Regions from separate parts of the Homo sapiens genome. Here region 1 is linked to region 2. Evidence: promoter capture Hi-C in 16 types of primary human blood cells and fetal thymus (Javierre and others, 2016). All regions are on one chromosome and are shown on one strand. The core of a region is centred on a gene start or on the middle of the fragment in contact, and the rest is flanking DNA. Distances in the headings are between cores, read along the strand shown.

What was found. The method cuts DNA at HindIII sites, captures the fragments that hold promoters and counts their contacts. A CHiCAGO score of 5 or more calls a contact.
Region 1: a fragment that was not itself captured here is called in contact with the fragment with the promoter of OLFML3 in region 2 in 2 of 17 cell types (total B cells and naive B cells); the score reaches 10.6 in total B cells.

The regions. Positions count from the first base shown.
Region 1 is chr1:115,048,567-115,055,086 of GRCh38, forward strand. TSPAN2 (tetraspanin 2) reads right to left here. Exons shown (of 8, transcript NM_005725.6): 7 at 4,813-4,896; 8 at 1-1,989. The coding sequence ends at 1,924. Among named protein-coding and RNA genes, the nearest start is that of TSHB, 22 kb to the left of the region's middle. The HindIII fragment of the contact is 1,321 bases long and covers 1,890-3,210 here.
Region 2 is chr1:113,975,297-113,981,628 of GRCh38, forward strand. It overlaps OLFML3 (olfactomedin like 3), which reads left to right and starts at 4,178. Exons shown (of 3, transcript NM_020190.5): 1 at 4,178-4,334; 2 at 5,036-5,321; 3 at 5,653-6,332. The coding sequence starts at 4,221. HIPK1 (homeodomain interacting protein kinase 1) reads left to right here. Exons shown (of 16, transcript NM_198268.3): 16 at 1-2,573. RefSeq lists enhancers at 1,539-2,116, 3,422-4,255, 5,923-6,332. The HindIII fragment of the contact is 3,076 bases long and covers 2,767-5,842 here.

The DNA.
Region 1 (6,520 bases), core at 1,300-3,799, 1.1 Mb after region 2:
CAGATAGGAAACTAAACTCACTTTTGTGGAATCAGAGATGATTCTGAGTTGGAAAGAACCCGAGTATGCACTTGGGCCTGTTTCCTGTCTTCAGGCAGAGAGATAAACTAAAGCTAAGAGAGATGGACTGCCTGTTCTTTGCCTAAAAGGTCACATTTCTCAACTACTGGGGTACAAACTATATTTCATGAAGTAATTTTTGTAAAATAATTTTTCTTTAGCTACAGACACAGTAAAGTAGCCATGTATAATTAAGTTTTTAGCTTGCCTCAAATATGACCTTTGTTCTTCTAGAAAAATTTCCTCCAAAATCAGTAGCAGTAGCAAGTATGGCAGAAAGAGAAATGTGGTTCTCCATGGGAGAGAGACTATTTCAAGCAGTCATATCTTTTTAGCAAAATGTTTTGTGAGTTTTTTGGGAGTGTGACACTTTTAGTGCACACTCAAAGACTTGTGTTTTCACATGTATAGAAGTTCATCTGGGGGTTTCCAAAGCCTTCCGTATTTTCACTTATGTGTGGCCTTACAAAATGTAGTTTTTAAAAAATCTATGGTTTACTAAATGTAACACGTTAAAAATCACTGAAAAATTTGCCAATGTAAATCCTAAATTTGGGTTTACTAAGTTAAAATGAAGCGTTAAGACCAAAAAAACATTGAAAATTTTATTTTCACAGGGGATTTGCATAAAAAGAACATTATTTTTGTTCTGTGTATATATAAGTATTTTTGTTTCCTTAACTTGTTTCTGTTGCCCACACACAACTAGGAGAAGATGCTTTTCTTTATTTTGGTTTGGCCAAAGATGCTAATGGTTAAATTATGAAGGACTTTGTTTTACTTATGTTAAGTGGTGAAAACTGTAGTTCTTAATCTATGAAGAATTCTCTAGGTGGCTATACAAGAAAAATACAAAAAGTTAGGAAAACATGTAAACGTAAGTTATGAGGTATTTCATAGATACAGTGCCCATACAAATTCTCTTTCCCACAATTTTCAACTGCCAGATCTCTTGCTTTAGTCTTTTTTCCTTATATTTGGAGAAACAGAAGAGTTTGACATAAAAGTCCCTTTGAGGATGTGAGGGTTGCAGTAGTTTACAGCAGGGTCAGAAAATGAAAGTAATAAAGCAATATTTACATGTTTTTGTATAAGAACAAAAATATTTCCTTAAAAAGTTGTTAAAAGTTTTTTAGTCCTATAAACACTCACTTTTATAGGGCACATGATTGTCTGTGTGACTTCTCTTTCCAGAGGAAGACTTTTTTATTTTTAAATTCTAGGAAAGCATGACTTATTCAAATTGGATTTTCCATGCTATATTTAGTTTTACAGATGTGTTTAGTTCTAAAACTGTGGTTTACTGTATTCTGGGGAGAGCATGTATATAAAAAAACCCAGGAAACCCTTACACCCAACTTAGACACAGTCAGTTTTAACACTCCATTGTGATCTCTCAATTCTTACAGCTTATTACTTCCATTAAGAAGAAATCTCTGAATTCTCTGCATCTAATTTTCAATGGCTACAGTCTGAGAAACTGACCCATTATCACTTTTTCTAAATAGCCAAGTTCTCAAAGTTTCTGAAAGCTCTTTGATCTTTTTTTTCTGGGAGCGAAATAGGTTGTTCTTCTTATATAACAAGAATCAGGAATTCCCAGCAAACAGATTTCATTACGTATAAAGCATATTCCAGAAACACGCAGATCACACATGAATATGCTCTCAGTCATCATAAACAGGCATTCACTCAAGGGGTAAACCAGTAATGAGCCAAACATACGTACTCATGCAAATGTACAATTGACAGCAAATTATTTTAGATCCTAATGTCATTTCAGTGTTAAAAATGAGCTGGGAGACAGCTCCTGTGACATTTGGTATGAAAGCTTTAGATTGCAATTTTCATGTAGAAGTAGCTTCATATCACATCTCGTGAGTTTCGTATCGCACAGCAGAGGACCATGCTGAATATCATGCCAAAGATCTGAAACAGAAGAAACACTCATCAGTGACTTTGAAACGGGTACTGATAGGTAAAAAGTTCAGCAGACTTCCTGGGTGTCTAACTCAAGTTAACAAATAATTATAACCAATAATTACCAGTCACAAATGACATTTTAGTATGTTACTTAAGGTTGGCTATGGGGTAAATAATTCTAGATTAACTGTTTAAATGTGTATTATTATTGTTAACAAGTAACAAGGCTCTGCTTTAAAAGAACCTACCCTGCTTCAGAATTATAGAACCGTTCTGAATACCTGTGAAAGACAGACACAATACTGGCTTTGGAATTTTATATTTCAGGTTAATCCTAGATCTCTTTTATATGTTTATTTTGAAAACTGTGTCCATAACCACTTGTTGTTTAGATATGCTTGTGGTCTAAATAATTTTCTATTGCTGGAAAAGCTCTGATTTTTTACAACAGTGTCCATACATCCAAAAATGGAGTATCAGCTGGGTGCAGTGGCTCATGCCTGCAATCCCAGCACTTTGGGAGGCTGTGGTGGGAGGATCGCTTGAGCTCAGGAGTTCTAGACCAGCCTGGGAAACATGGTGAAACCCTGTCACTACAAAAAATACAAAAATTAGCTGAGCATGGTGGTGTGTCCCTGCAGTCCCAGGTGCTTGGCAAGCTGAGGCGGGAGGATTATTGAGCCCAGGAGGTCGAGGCTGCAGTGAGCTGTGATTGCACCACTTCACTCCCTGGTGACAGAGACCCTGTCTCACAAAAAAAGAAAAAAAAAGTGGAGCATCACTTCATTCTCAGTCCATTTTTAAGGGCAAACGATGCTTCACTGTTTAATTCAATAGTTTTAGCAAAACATAAACTAAAGGGTTTATACTATGGTATTATTGACTTTTACCTTTTGGATAGTTCTCTGAGAAGTTAAATACTTGAGTGAAATCAATATCCACTTCCATGGTTTGAATAGAAGAATGCCAAAGAGTCTTCTTGTCCGCTATTATTTCCCCTACAATTTTGTAGAGCCCATGGAACCCTATCTGTGGGCACCATTCCATAAACTACTGTCAATGCTTATTTTAAAAAATGGGTACTATAACTTTCTGGTTCTCTCCTCAATTCCATCCTAAGTCAGACTAGGATCTGTAAGTGCTAAATTCAATAAGATATGAATGATCAGTTGTTTTGAAAAGGGAGGGGCAGAAGCAGGTAAGGGCATGGCCAGGAACAGGATTTCAAGCTTCTGGATGACAGGACTCAGTACCAGTGTGTAGCACGGGCGACACCCAATGCACTTTTAGTTAGCTGATTACATTGTGCAACTCTCACTTTACAGAGAAAAGAACTAACGAAGAAACCTGGGGGTGCCGACTCAAGATAGGCTCACTATGGGCATTTCCCCTTTATCATTGCCATAAGGTTGGATGTAATCCCTACCCATCCTGGTTTCAGTGAGACTCCTTCAGTCTCAGCCTACTGCCGACACGAGTCAGGGGTGAATGCTTCTAGGCTGCTCATTTGCTGAGATTGTGAAACTCTCCATTATGCAGCACACGCTCAGACCTGCCTCAGGACTGTCCTTTGGGGAGCTGCAGAACTGCAGCCAGGCTATCCCCAGAGCAGGTGGGGAGGACCTGAGAAATGTCCCTTGATTTGGAGGGCCTCAGCAGAGTATTTCCAGCCACTTCTCCACCCCTCTGTGCTCTAAATACAGAAAAGGGGAAGGCGCTTGTGTGTCCCCTGATAACTGCAAATTCACTGATTTCCTCACAATTCCCACAGCCCTTGCCTTAGTTTAGGCCATGAATTAATCTACATAGAGGGCTAGAGACTAAGTGCCATCTTAGCATTAGCTATTATCATCCAACCCCTGGACAATGGAAATCATCCTTTAACCCGCCTTCCAAATCCAATCTTGCCTCCCTCCAACCTTTCCTCTATCCTCTACCACAGGTTCTTCCAACTCTTGGTGACTCCCCTTTCCTTAAGGGTGAAGCCCACCCTTTCAAAGGGGCATACAAAGATCTCAATGATGTAGATCGAATACTCTCTCCATTACCACCTCTCGCAACTCCTGCCATACCTGTCCGCTGCTATCCATTCTTCCCACACACTCTTCTTTTGTACTTTAGAAGTACAGAGCCACCTGGTGGTGGTCTGGATGCACTACGCTTAATACCATCTATGCCATTGCCTTTGCCTGGTAGATTATGCAGAGAGCTGGCATTTGTTGAGTGTTATATGTCCCAGACACTTTATTTATATTAATTTGTAATACTACTGTATATGTAGTATCCCATTTAATTTTCACGGCAATCCTATAAGGTTTATATATTAACAGACGAGGAAATTGAGGTATAGAAAAATTAAGAAATTTTCCTGCGATCTCAGAGCTTGCAAATGGTGGAGCCTAGAGTTAAATCCAAACCATGTGATGCCAGAGCTCGCCCTATTAATCTCTATGCTCTGCTGCCTCTTCAAATCGTAGGTGAGAGAGATTAACCTGATATGTTGCATTGAATTTGTAACAGTAGAAAGAGACCCAGAACTGAAAATCATTTATCTAGGTTATGGATAGTAGCCTTAAAACGGGAAGTTAATAACAATGACACACTCAAGGTCATAATGAGTTAAAGTTGAAATTTCTATTATATTTTAGAGGACAAACTATTAATATATTTATGAGCTTTGTTCTTAGAAGATGTAATACATTGTGAACAAAGGTCTTTTTTCTTTATGAGAATTCTCTCTTAAGATACTATCACACTTGAAAAGAAATAAGATGCAAAGTTTCAAGGCTTTTTAGAGGGCAAAAAGGGTAAGTTCTAGAACTTTCTCACCGTCAGACCTGCAATTCCAATACCGACAATTCCAATGAGCTGGAGCTTAACACTGATTATGGTCTCAATTTCATCGATGCAATTCTGTTTTGAGGAAAAAAAGTCGGGAATAAAAACTGATTGTATGTGTCAGTCATTATCCTGATCCTATCCTTTCCATCTCTACAGTTCATTCTGTGAGAGTTAATCCATGCCAGCTTCTACTCATGTTTCAACAATTCATCTTTGATAACATCATCCTAATAAGCTTAATGCAAAAATGCAGTTTGGGGAAAAAAATAGAAGCCTCTCCTTTGGGTGAGATTTTCATGTTTAGGCCAGTGGCTTCTTCGGAGCCCTGAAATATAACTGGAGGAAGCTATTTGTCTGGTTCCAAGGAATCTAAAAATTTGGAGCCACTTCTTACTTGTAGCAAATAAGTAAAATACCCTTAAAACAATAACTCTTTGTTTTCATATTGTCATTTACAGTTTAAAATACTTTCTATGTCTTTGACCCAATTTACTATGCAAAGTAGGCATGACCTATTAAGAAACTAAAAAGTCTTAACAGGTTCAAGTTAAACAAAGGAAAGCCAAGAATTAGAAAAGCCAAGTCTTGGAGCTAGAGGACCATTCTCTCCTGTGGTGGCTGGGCTGGGCTGTGCTGGGTGAGTTCCTATCCTTTCATCTGTGCCCATAAGACACCTGTGCAGCATAGATTCAAAGGGCCTTCATGGATGTGGGGAAACTTAGACAGAAAGCCAAATAGATCACCTGTAACTATTATTAGTTTCTCCAACTTCAAACACTCCTATTTGGAGTGCTCTTAAGTAGAGGGATGCTCTCAATCCAACTGTACCCTCAGGTTGTTCAGATCTGTTCACTTGTCACTGGTTGGTTCCTTTGATACCATCTGAGCTATATAAAACCCTTACTTCTCTCTTCGTATTTCCTATCACACTTCATTCATTCAACAAACATTTCTTGAGCATCTACCTTGCATTAGTCACTGGAAGAGGGGTGGTAGATGCAGAGACAATAGGATATGGTTTCTCCTGCTTTCTGGGAATTCACAGTTTAGAGGACACAGATCCACAAGAGATACCTATAATGCATTCTGACAAAAGTTTGAAAACTACTCTTCTAAGGAGTGGCTCCCTTACTTAGTGGAAAAAATGAGAGTCAACCTATAGCAATTCTTTCACTCTTCCTCTCCTTCTCCTATACACTTAGATGCTCCCTTCCTTCAGTGCCAGGCATTGCTGTAGGTAGCAAGCACACTCCTGACTCCTTTTTCTCTGATCAGAGCCAAAGAGGTGCCCTTCTCTGTTGAAAGTTAACCTCATGGCTGGGCGCGGTGGCTCAAGCCTGTAATCCCAGCACTTGGGAGGCCGAGATGCGTGGATCACCTAAGGTCAGGAGATCGAGACCAGCCTGGCCAACATGGTGAAACCCCGTCTCTACTGAAAATAAAAAAATTAGCCGGGCATGGTGGCACCTACCTGTAATCCCAGCTACTAGCGGGGCTGAGGCAGGAGGATCACTTGAACCTGGGAGGTGGAGGTTGCAGTGAGCCGAGATCATGCCACTACACTCCAGCCTGGGCAACAGAGTGAGACTCTGTCTCAAAATAAATAAATAAATAAATAATAATAAAAGACAGTTAACTTCATATCCTGCTTTGGGTCTTTCAGCTCCTCAGGAAGCCTGCACTGCCAGTTACTTTT
Region 2 (6,332 bases), core at 2,928-5,427:
ATTGAAAAATAAAAACAGCAGCTTTTCTCCTTTACCACCACCTCTACCCCTTTCCATTTTGGATTCTCGGCTGAGTTCTCACAGAAGCATTTTCCCCATGTGGCTCTCTCACTGTGCGTTGCTACCTTGCTTCTGTGAGAATTCAGGAAGCAGGTGAGAGGAGTCAAGCCAATATTAAATATGCATTCTTTTAAAGTATGTGCAATCACTTTTAGAATGAATTTTTTTTTCCTTTTCCCATGTGGCAGTCCTTCCTGCACATAGTTGACATTCCTAGTAAAATATTTGCTTGTTGAAAAAAACATGTTAACAGATGTGTTTATACCAAAGAGCCTGTTGTATTGCTTACCATGTCCCCATACTATGAGGAGAAGTTTTGTGGTGCCGCTGGTGACAAGGAACTCACAGAAAGGTTTCTTAGCTGGTGAAGAATATAGAGAAGGAACCAAAGCCTGTTGAGTCATTGAGGCTTTTGAGGTTTCTTTTTTAACAGCTTGTATAGTCTTGGGGCCCTTCAAGCTGTGAAATTGTCCTTGTACTCTCAGCTCCTGCATGGATCTGGGTCAAGTAGAAGGTACTGGGGATGGGGACATTCCTGCCCATAAAGGATTTGGGGAAAGAAGATTAATCCTAAAATACAGGTGTGTTCCATCTGAATTGAAAATGATATATTTGAGATATAATTTTAGGACTGGTTCTGTGTAGATAGAGATGGTGTCAAGGAGGTGCAGGATGGAGATGGGAGATTTCATGGAGCCTGGTCAGCCAGCTCTGTACCAGGTTGAACACCGAGGAGCTGTCAAAGTATTTGGAGTTTCTTCATTGTAAGGAGTAAGGGCTTCCAAGATGGGGCAGGTAGTCCGTACAGCCTACCAGGAACATGTTGTGTTTTCTTTATTTTTTAAAATCATTATATTGAGTTGTGTTTTCAGCACTATATTGGTCAAGATAGCCAAGCAGTTTGTATAATTTCTGTCACTAGTGTCATACAGTTTTCTGGTCAACATGTGTGATCTTTGTGTCTCCTTTTTGCCAAGCACATTCTGATTTTCTTGTTGGAACACAGGTCTAGTTTCTAAAGGACAAATTTTTTGTTCCTTGTCTTTTTTCTGTAAGGGACAAGATTTGTTGTTTTTGTAAGAAATGAGATGCAGGAAAGAAAACCAAATCCCATTCCTGCACCCCAGTCCAATAAGCAGATACCACTTAAGATAGGAGTCTAAACTCCACAGAAAAGGATAATACCAAGAGCTTGTATTGTTACCTTAGTCACTTGCCTAGCAGTGTGTGGCTTTAAAAACTAGAGATTTTTCAGTCTTAGTCTGCAAACTGGCATTTCCGATTTTCCAGCATAAAAATCCACCTGTGTCTGCTGAATGTGTATGTATGTGCTCACTGTGGCTTTAGATTCTGTCCCTGGGGTTAGCCCTGTTGGCCCTGACAGGAAGGGAGGAAGCCTGGTGAATTTAGTGAGCAGCTGGCCTGGGTCACAGTGACCTGACCTCAAACCAGCTTAAGGCTTTAAGTCCTCTCTCAGAACTTGGCATTTCCAACTTCTTCCTTTCCGGGTGAGAGAAGAAGCGGAGAAGGGTTCAGTGTAGCCACTCTGGGCTCATAGGGACACTTGGTCACTCCAGAGTTTTTAATAGCTCCCAGGAGGTGATATTATTTTCAGTGCTCAGCTGAAATACCAACCCCAGGAATAAGAACTCCATTTCAAACAGTTCTGGCCATTCTGAGCCTGCTTTTGTGATTGCTCATCCATTGTCCTCCACTAGAGGGGCTAAGCTTGACTGCCCTTAGCCAGGCAAGCACAGTAATGTGTGTTTTGTTCAGCATTATTATGCAAAAATTCACTAGTTGAGATGGTTTGTTTTAGGATAGGAAATGAAATTGCCTCTCAGTGACAGGAGTGGCCCGAGCCTGCTTCCTATTTTGATTTTTTTTTTTTTTAACTGATAGATGGTGCAGCATGTCTACATGGTTGTTTGTTGCTAAACTTTATATAATGTGTGGTTTCAATTCAGCTTGAAAAATAATCTCACTACATGTAGCAGTACATTATATGTACATTATATGTAATGTTAGTATTTCTGCTTTGAATCCTTGATATTGCAATGGAATTCCTACTTTATTAAATGTATTTGATATGCTAGTTATTGTGTGCGATTTAAACTTTTTTTGCTTTCTCCCTTTTTTTGGTTGTGCGCTTTCTTTTACAACAAGCCTCTAGAAACAGATAGTTTCTGAGAATTACTGAGCTATGTTTGTAATGCAGATGTACTTAGGGAGTATGTAAAATAATCATTTTAACAAAAGAAATAGATATTTAAAATTTAATACTAACTATGGGAAAAGGGTCCATTGTGTAAAACATAGTTTATCTTTGGATTCAATGTTTGTCTTTGGTTTTACAAAGTAGCTTGTATTTTCAGTATTTTCTACATAATATGGTAAAATGTAGAGCAATTGCAATGCATCAATAAAATGGGTAAATTTTCTGACTTATGTGGCTGTTTTTGACTTCTGTTATAGGATATAAAGGGGATCAATAAATGACATCTTTGAAAGTGGCTAAGCATATTGTATTTGAACATCAGTAGAGTACTAGAGACAATTTCATTCTTCACACAAATCTCCATACTGGAAATGAATAGGGTTTGGCAGGGAATACTTCCCAAGAATGCAGTGTCCAGGGTCCTTACTTCACATCATCTGGATCTGACCCTTTGAAAGAGGTAGAAGACTTCTGAGACCGGCTAATTAAGCTTTGTTTCCTCATATGTTTTGCCAGATAGCAGTAGCAGAATGAAAAGATGAGTAACCACAGGAAGCTGCTATTTTTCCCCTCCTTTCAAACTGTACTGTTAGAGTCATGGTCCTTTTTACAGAAGGAACCTCTCATCAGATTCTGTTGATTCTAAAGTGAATAGAATTTCTCCCGATAAAGAAATAGGGGTTTGTTTCGATTAATGACTGCAGGTCTCTGAGTAAATGCTCTATTTGATTTTTTTTTTCGGCCCGTGTGTCTACCTTATGGCCCAAGTCTACCTTATGGTGGCCATTAATTCATTTTGGGCTCCTGCAGCCTTAGTTGGGATATAGAAATGAGAAACACTCAGAAATACCCTTTTGGACCACAACCAAGAGAAATAACCAATAGTCTTTTCTCCCAGTGGTAAGGAAGTCAGAATACATTGATCTAGACTGCAACAACATATATATATATATCAGATTCCGCCCCCCCGCAATACATGAATGTATAGTAAATTAGTGTGAACTCACTGAACACTCCTCAGTTTTGGTGAGAGACTATATCTGGCCTCTTTCAAGCAAAGGAAAGCCATGTAAAACAGCGCTGCTGTCAGCCTTAACTTCCAGACGATCGAGTTAATTTACTAACTTCTCAGTGACCTGTTTTTTTTTTTTTTTTAATCTCAGTTATATTTTCTTCCTTGGGCTAAATCAGATATTTGCATAGCCCCCAAAGTAGTAATTGGATAGTCTTGGGGGAAATATGCATTTCAGTGGTGAAAACCCCTGTAAATTCAATATATTTGGCTTTTGTGGAAAATTTTCCTCATGGGGTGAAGTCTAAGCCTTAGTTTCTGTATTATCATGAGAGATGACACCAGCTGCTTAGCACAAGGTGGCGCCAATGAGCTTTAGAATAAGTTGGGCTTGACCACTTGGGCCATTGTTTTCCTGCTTCCTCCCTTCAAGCCTCACCTCCCCAGCTCCCAGCTTCTACTGAACAAGGCTGAAAACCCACTCTATTGCAGGGAAAGGGAAAGATTAATGAAAAATGTCAGTTTCTTAAGTCAGCACTGGTGAAACTTTCCTAAAACAGGAATGGCGTTTGCTGAGTTTTCTCTGGGGTCTCTGCTTTCTGCAGCTAGCTTCCCTGCTTGACTGCCTAGAAGGCCTCTGCTTTCGGGTTTCCATCTCTTTCCCCTCCAGAGGACCCTACAGCCTAGGCGGGAGGTGGTTAAGGCTTCTGGCTGCTGTGCAATGGGGCCATCTGTGTTTGATCAATCCTGGCGGAAAGGAGGGGGTGGGGGTTGTAAAGAGAACTGAAAGCATTCCAGAGTAGTGAGAGAGACCCAGAGATCAGGAGAGAAGGCACCGCCCCCACCCCGCCTCCAAAGCTAACCCTCGGGCTTGAGGGGAAGAGGCTGACTGTACGTTCCTTCTACTCTGGCACCACTCTCCAGGCTGCCATGGGGCCCAGCACCCCTCTCCTCATCTTGTTCCTTTTGTCATGGTCGGGACCCCTCCAAGGACAGCAGCACCACCTTGTGGAGTACATGGAACGCCGACTAGCTGCTTTAGAGGTGAGGGACCCCTTTCTCTTCTAGCCCCGCCTAGAAGGATTCCAGGGCTATTGGTTCAACCAGTTTGTTAGGGATCTGGGGATAACAAGAAAGGGCTCTGTTAGAGTCTACAGAAAATTCTCTCTTAATAAGAGGACCTTCGGAATGACAAGCCCTCCTCTTACCCCACATAGAACAATTCCAAAGCAAATCGACTTTTGCGTTTTACCTCTGGGATTAGATAGAATAAGGGGGCAGAGTGGAAACGAGAGCCAAAATTGTGGGGCTGCATCTCCAGAGAAGGTGATGATTCTGTTGAAGTTGGAGGTTCCCGGGGAATCTATAACTTCCTGTCTTTTTAACAGGTTGAGATCCGTAGCATTTTAGTGTCCGAGAGGATAATTGCTAAGGGAGCAGAGACCTCTTCACACCTTCATGCGCTTAGACCTGCCTAGAGGCTCAGATGGCTCAGTGGCACTGCTCACAGAGAACACAGGCTGGAGGACATGGAGTCGGGGTAGGGGCCTAGGTGAATCTCAGCTAGGCTCTTTGCACATTTAGCACCTCTGCACATCTGGTTTCCTTTTCTGCAGGAGTGGAAGGGGATATTGAAGCCTGGCTGAGTTTGCTCTTTTTTTCCCATTCCTGACTCCCGAGTTGGGCCTCTCCCTGCCTGGGAGTTGTAACCCTGCAGCCTCCCTCCTGATCCCCCATCCCTTCAGGAACGGCTGGCCCAGTGCCAGGACCAGAGTAGTCGGCATGCTGCTGAGCTGCGGGACTTCAAGAACAAGATGCTGCCACTGCTGGAGGTGGCAGAGAAGGAGCGGGAGGCACTCAGAACTGAGGCCGACACCATCTCCGGGAGAGTGGATCGTCTGGAGCGGGAGGTAGACTATCTGGAGACCCAGAACCCAGCTCTGCCCTGTGTAGAGTTTGATGAGAAGGTGACTGGAGGCCCTGGGACCAAAGGCAAGGGAAGAAGGAATGAGAAGTACGATATGGTGACAGGTAAATAATCTGAAAGCAGGCCCCTAACTCTTCTCAGAACCGATATTCTTCCTTCCTTGCTTCTTACTCTTTTTTTCGCTTTGTCCCAGTCCATTGTGGCTCTGTCTTCTGGAATCTGTTTTAGGGAAACCTCTGTAATGCCAGGTCTATTAAGGAGAGGTTCTGGGGATCCAGGCCGCTGTGGTACCCGCTCTTTCTCAATTCTCCCTAAGATTGGAGGCAACCACTGGGCAAATGCTCACTATTCTCCAGATCACCCACCCTGGGGGAGTTCCTGCTGGAGGCATCTAATTCTTGCCTCTATTTCCTTTTCCTGTGCTTTTCTCATCAGACTGTGGCTACACAATCTCTCAAGTGAGATCAATGAAGATTCTGAAGCGATTTGGTGGCCCAGCTGGTCTATGGACCAAGGATCCACTGGGGCAAACAGAGAAGATCTACGTGTTAGATGGGACACAGAATGACACAGCCTTTGTCTTCCCAAGGCTGCGTGACTTCACCCTTGCCATGGCTGCCCGGAAAGCTTCCCGAGTCCGGGTGCCCTTCCCCTGGGTAGGCACAGGGCAGCTGGTATATGGTGGCTTTCTTTATTTTGCTCGGAGGCCTCCTGGAAGACCTGGTGGAGGTGGTGAGATGGAGAACACTTTGCAGCTAATCAAATTCCACCTGGCAAACCGAACAGTGGTGGACAGCTCAGTATTCCCAGCAGAGGGGCTGATCCCCCCCTACGGCTTGACAGCAGACACCTACATCGACCTGGCAGCTGATGAGGAAGGTCTTTGGGCTGTCTATGCCACCCGGGAGGATGACAGGCACTTGTGTCTGGCCAAGTTAGATCCACAGACACTGGACACAGAGCAGCAGTGGGACACACCATGTCCCAGAGAGAATGCTGAGGCTGCCTTTGTCATCTGTGGGACCCTCTATGTCGTCTATAACACCCGTCCTGCCAGTCGGGCCCGCATCCAGTGCTCCTTTGATGCCAGCGGCACCCTGACCCCTGAACGGGCA